Regions from separate parts of the Homo sapiens genome. Here region 1 is linked to region 2. Evidence: promoter capture Hi-C in 16 types of primary human blood cells and fetal thymus (Javierre and others, 2016). All regions are on one chromosome and are shown on one strand. Each heading gives the region's core, a stretch centred on a gene start or on the middle of the fragment in contact. The rest is flanking DNA. Distances are from core to core; before and after follow the strand shown.

Region 1 (2,700 bases), core at 49-2,548, 110 kb before region 2:
CACGATCTAGGCTCACTGCAAGCTCCGCTTCCCAGGTTCACGCCATTCTCCTGCCTCAACCTCCCAAGTAGCTGGGACTACGGGTGCCTGCCACCACGCCCGGCTAATTGGAATATTACCCTTTTCCCCCAAAGATAACCACAATATATTTGGTGTATATATTTCAAATCTCTTTCCTGTGTGTGTGTGTGTGTGTGTGTGTGTGTACGTATATGTATGTGTATATATGTATATATGTGTATATATACATATGTATACATATATACATATATATATCTTTCCTTTGTGTGTGTGTATACATACATGTATACATATATATATACACACACATATATACGCATATACACAAAATATACACTATATACACACATAACTCCAATGATCTATTCTTAACTGGTAAAAAGAAAACTATAAAACAGTATCACAAAACGAATTTTTCTAAGGAGTTATGTGTGTATATAGTGTACAAATATATTGTGTGTATATGTGTAAATATGTGTGTGTATGTATATGTATACATATGTGTATACACACACACGCAAAGGAAAGAGATTTGAAATATATAGCACCAAATATATTACGGTTATCTTTGGGGGAAAAGGGTAATATTCCAAGTAGCTTTTGTTTTCTTTTTTTGCTCATGTGCATGGTCTATTTTTTTCTTTAACGAATATGAATTTTTGTGTGTGATTAAGTTGTATAAGGAGGTTTATTAAAGTGTGCTTTAGGAAAAAGAAATCCTATATTTAAAATGAGGATGGCGGCCAGGTGCGGTGGCTCACGCCTGTAAGCCCAGGACTTTGGGAGGCAGAGGCAGGTGGGTCACCTCAGGTCAGGAGTTGAAGACAAGCCTGGCCAACATGGTGAAACCCTGTCTCTACTAAAAATACCAAAATTAGCCAGGCGTAGTTGTGTGTGCCTGTAGTCCCAGCTAGCTACTCGAGAGGCTGAGGCAGGAGAATTGCTTGAACCCGGGAGGCAGAAGTTGAAGTGAACCAAGATCACGCACTGCACTGCAGCCTGGGCACAGAGCGAGACTCTGTCTCAAAATAAATAAGTACATAAATAAAATAAAATGAGGATGGAGTCTTCTTCTTATTATTATTTTTATTAGAGACAGGGTCTTACTCTGTCACCCAAGCTGGAGTGCAGTGGCACAGTCATAGCTCACTGCAGCCTCAAACGGTTGAACTCAAGGGATCCTCCTACCTCCTACCTCAGTAGCTGGGATTTCAGGCACCAGCCACCTAATCTGGCTAGGATTGCTAAAAAATAGTAATAGCTACAATGTGTTATGTGTTTATTAAGCAGTGGGTCTTGCTCTGAGCACTTTGCATGTATTTATTTATTTAAATCTCACAAGTGCCCTGTGAATTAGGTACTCTTATTACCTTATTTTACAGAGATAGAAGCTGAAGCTGTGTGTCCCCGCATGTCACACAGCTGGAAAGTGACAGAGTCAGGGTTCTAGTTGAGAAAATAGGATTGATGCACCTGTACTCTTAGCCAGCACAGTGTTGTGTTTTAGATATGCCGTTAACATGGTATAGCCACACAATGAGACCAGATAGCATTTGCACCAAATTCCAAAAGATACATATTGCATAAAAATGCCCACAAGATAATTTTAAATGGAAAAAGCCATACACAGAGCTGTGTGAAACTGGAGAGTTGACCTGGTCTTCCCCAGTCAGGGCCAGCTGCCTCTCATGTGTGGAAGTAGAGAGAAGGTTCTGACCCATGGTTCAGGAGGGATCCTCTCTGGGGGTCCTCAGCATCAGGAGCTCTTCCCTGCTGGATGGCTGGAAGAGCATGACCTGCTGGATGGCTGGTCTCTACCAGGTCACCTGGGCCCTGGCTGCTGCTGGTCCTCCAAGGCAGCACAGGGATGGTAGGGCAGTGCATGAGGCCCCTCTCCTCCAACCCCCTTGCAAGCCCCAGGGTATCTGCTTCCTACAGCAGCCATCCCAGAAGGCACATTTTCATTTTACAGATGGTTGGGGCAGTTTTTCTTTATAGATGTATAAATTTTTAGTAAAAGTTATACACAAACATGGCTAAGAGTTCTAAGAGGATACATGATGAAGATAATGATAAAGCACTGCTTTGTGCCACCTCTGACCATACCCTATCTCTCCCCAAGCGTACACTCATAGTTGTAGTTTACTAAATTCGGACATTGCTGCTTTACCTCCTATAGATCATGATTTAGCCCTCTTACATCACCCTCCCCTCTCTTCATTCTCCCAATGTAGCTCTATTTCTATTTTTGGTCAAATCAATAAACAGGCTACCTTATTAGGTCCACACTGACAATGTTCTTTGTAGAGCTAAGGAGTGCGTTTTGACCACATTGTCCTTCTTGTATAGCTCTGTGTCTTTCTTTTCTAATGTCCTAACATTCTTTCTTTTCTTCCATTAGACAATAAACACAAAAACAAAGTCTCTGTGGTATCAGATACAGAATTATCTTCTTTTTTTTCTCCCCCCAGGAGAAAAAGCTCCCTTCCAATGACCTCTGTCTTCCTACTACAATCTGGGCTGTCCTGACATAATTTGGGGGCTTTGATTTGGGCAGTTGAGGAAGAAGATTTGCTTCATTGAAGGTAGTGATTAGCACTTCTCCCCAAAATCCAAAGGGATGGGGGCAGGTGTGGTGGCTCACGCCTGTAATCCCAGCACTTTGGGAGGCCAAGGAGG
Region 2 (2,700 bases), core at 32-2,531:
GGCGACCCTGTCTGTGGGGGGGAGCCCTGGTCTCCAGGACTGGCCAGACTTAAGTCGCCATGGCAGCAATGACCTTCTTTCCTGCCATTGCCCAGGGGAATTCGGAGAGCAAACAAGGAGCCCCCGGGCGCGCGCAGCAACTTGGGTGGTGCCTGGGGCACTTTGTGTTCTAAGTCTGCCTGCACCCCTCAGGGAGACCTATCGGGAGCAGGTGCCAGGGCTACTCACCTACAGGGGTGTCCTCTGGGAGGCTGAACAGAGCCATGTTTCCGTTGGTGCTGCCGACCCCGTTGTCGAAGAAGTGCGGGGCGAAGTTGGCCTGAGCTGGAAAAAGAACACAGAACAGACGGACACCCAGGCAAAGGACACCCAGACACCAGGAGGGAGCTTCGCACCAGCGCGGTCCCGCGTCAGGCCCAGCTACTGGGCAGGAGGGCGCTCCGCCTCCCCAACCCAAGTGCACCGAGGGACCCCACTGGGGCGCCGCCCAGAGGATGCCCCTGACCCCCACTCCGCCCCCGGTGGGCTCGGGCTTGTCAGGGACACGTAGCATGTGGGCGCTTAGAACCCAGGTAGCAATCCAACCCCTCCTTCATCAATGGGCAGATTGCACCCGCGCTCGGAGAGGGGCAGTGCCCCAGCCCAGCCAAGGTCAAGCCGCGAGTCAGGGCACTATCTCCTGCCCCACGCAGCATCGGAGCTGCCACCAAGCCTACAGCTCTGGTTCCCAGCAAGCGGAGAGCAGCGGGGGTCCGGGCGCCAAACCCTGGGGCCCTAGGATGCCAGCTCTGGAGAAGCGCCCCGGAGCTCCCCACTACTCCGCTACCCCACTCCCCACTACCGAATGGGCCAGGAAGATGGAAGGACTTCTCCGCTCCCGTCCACCAGCCCGAGTCCCACTCTGGAAGTGGTCCAGGACCATGTCCCTCTGGCCACCTGGGTGACGCCAGCGCCCATCTCCCTCGCCATCCACGCGGCCAGCGCGGCCCAGCGGCCACTCACCCAAGCAGAGGCGCAGCAGCCCCAGGGCCAGGGCGGCCCACCGGCAGCGCCTCATGTCTCCGCCGGCGCGGAGTGTCGCCTGCCGCCGCCGAGACCGGGCGCAGGGGCACGGAGCATGCCCTGGGCCCGCGGGGAGGGCAGAGACCACAATGGGGGTAGCGGCGACTGCAGCCGCGGCGGGAGGGGGCACGGGGCGGGAGCGGCGGGTGGCGTGAGGGCGCTAAGAGGATGACACGGCTCGGATCTGCTCCTGCCGGCCGCCTGACGAGACCAATTAGCGGCGCAGAGCGGAGCGACAGGCTCCCAGCCGCGGGCGGGGGCAGGAGGGCGTGACAAGAGGACTCCCCGCCCGCCACGCCCCCTTTGCCGGCGGCCCCCAGTCCTGGACAGGAGGACACCATGGGGGACAGGAGTGTCTTTCCCCCAAGTTGTCCTGAGGCTTTCCCAGGGTACTTAAGTCCTGGTGGGGCTTGGGCTTCGCAGTTTTCTTTTCTCATCAACTTCCTCTGTGACTTTCAGGGGCTTAGCTGTCTTCTCTGAGCTAAGCATTCCAGAAGAAAAGTTAGTGGAGCGGCCGAGAGGGCCTTGCCTTAGCAGTCTAAGCAGGTTCTATAAGCCGCGTGAGACCAAAGGCAAAGAGAAAGGGTGATGGATGGGCAGCAGATGGTAAGGGGTTATCAGGACCCCCTCTCTGTGATCTCAACCCATTCCTGCCCTGTTCCCCAGGCTGGACCACCTCTCCCAAAGGGTCTGATCTGTGTGGTGGGCAGCAGGGAGGACCCTCAGGTGTCCACCAGGGTGAGAGGCAGTTCTGCTCCCCATTCCCAGTCAGTGCCCAGTCTGGGACCATGAAGGGGCAGCTGACCCACTCTTCAAACCTTCCAAGGAAGAGTGAAGGGCCTGAAGGCAGAGTTAAGCCCCATCTTAGGACAGACTTGCACAGAGCTGGCCAAGATAGATCTGAACTGCCCGAGAGGCACGAGATCTCATTCCTAGAGGGTATTTACACAAAGCAAGGCACTGCTATTGGGGTCCTGGATGCTGATAACTTGAAGACACAGGTAAGCCCAGGAACCTTTTTGGCTGCTGGTAAAGCTCCTTGGGCTTCCTCGTTCTCCTGCTCTGACACTGGAGGGTGCTTGGAAATGCAGCCTGTTTTCCTTTTCCTGGTTGGGCCATTTATGGGGGTACAGGTCACTTCAAGCCCAAGCCAGGCCACTTCCCAGGATGCCCTTGGGTGGATGTGTTCTCAGATAGAGGAGATCCCTCCTCTGTGTGCTCCTGGGAGAGGTCTCCACAGCTGAGGACTCAGCATTCCCCCCCTCCCCCTGCCAGGGGCCTTTGAGGGAACAGAGCACCCCCCATCCCTTGGTCTAGCCCTACATGATCTACTGTGAGCAAGGGTCAGGGATTTGCAGAGAAGAAGGAAGATGAATCAATGGTTTTAGAATGTGCAGCAGTTTTCAGGCCTAATTGGCCGAAACCCTTGTTGAGTCTCCTTAGGCTTGGCTCTTTTGCTGAAAAGACACACTTTAAATTGCACAGATGTTCTGAATCTGCCTCCCAAAGTGCTGGGACAAAGCTAAGGCAAGTATTCTGCAAGTCCCATATAGGGATGTGGAGACTGAGTCTTGCCGTGGATTTCCCAGGAGCCAGAGGCAGAGCCAAGGTTTCCTGGAGTAGATGTCTTGGTGGGCC

What was found. Contacts are between HindIII fragments. The CHiCAGO score rates a contact against its expected background, and 5 or more counts as called.
Region 1: a contact is called between a fragment that was not itself captured here and the fragment with the promoter of CDHR1 in region 2, in 1 of 17 cell types (neutrophils). The highest score is 6.4, in neutrophils.

The regions. Positions count from the first base shown.
Region 1 is chr10:84,299,147-84,301,846 of GRCh38, reverse strand. No RefSeq gene overlaps it. Among named protein-coding and RNA genes, the nearest start is that of LINC00858, 21 kb to the right of the region's middle. The HindIII fragment of the contact is 8,547 bases long and covers 1-2,700 here.
Region 2 is chr10:84,193,118-84,195,817 of GRCh38, reverse strand. CDHR1 (cadherin related family member 1) reads right to left here and starts at 1,281. Exons shown (of 17, transcript NM_033100.4): 1 at 1,003-1,281; 2 at 229-324. The coding sequence starts at 1,057. RefSeq lists silencers at 1,066-1,185, 1,256-1,385. The HindIII fragment of the contact is 5,936 bases long and covers 1-2,700 here.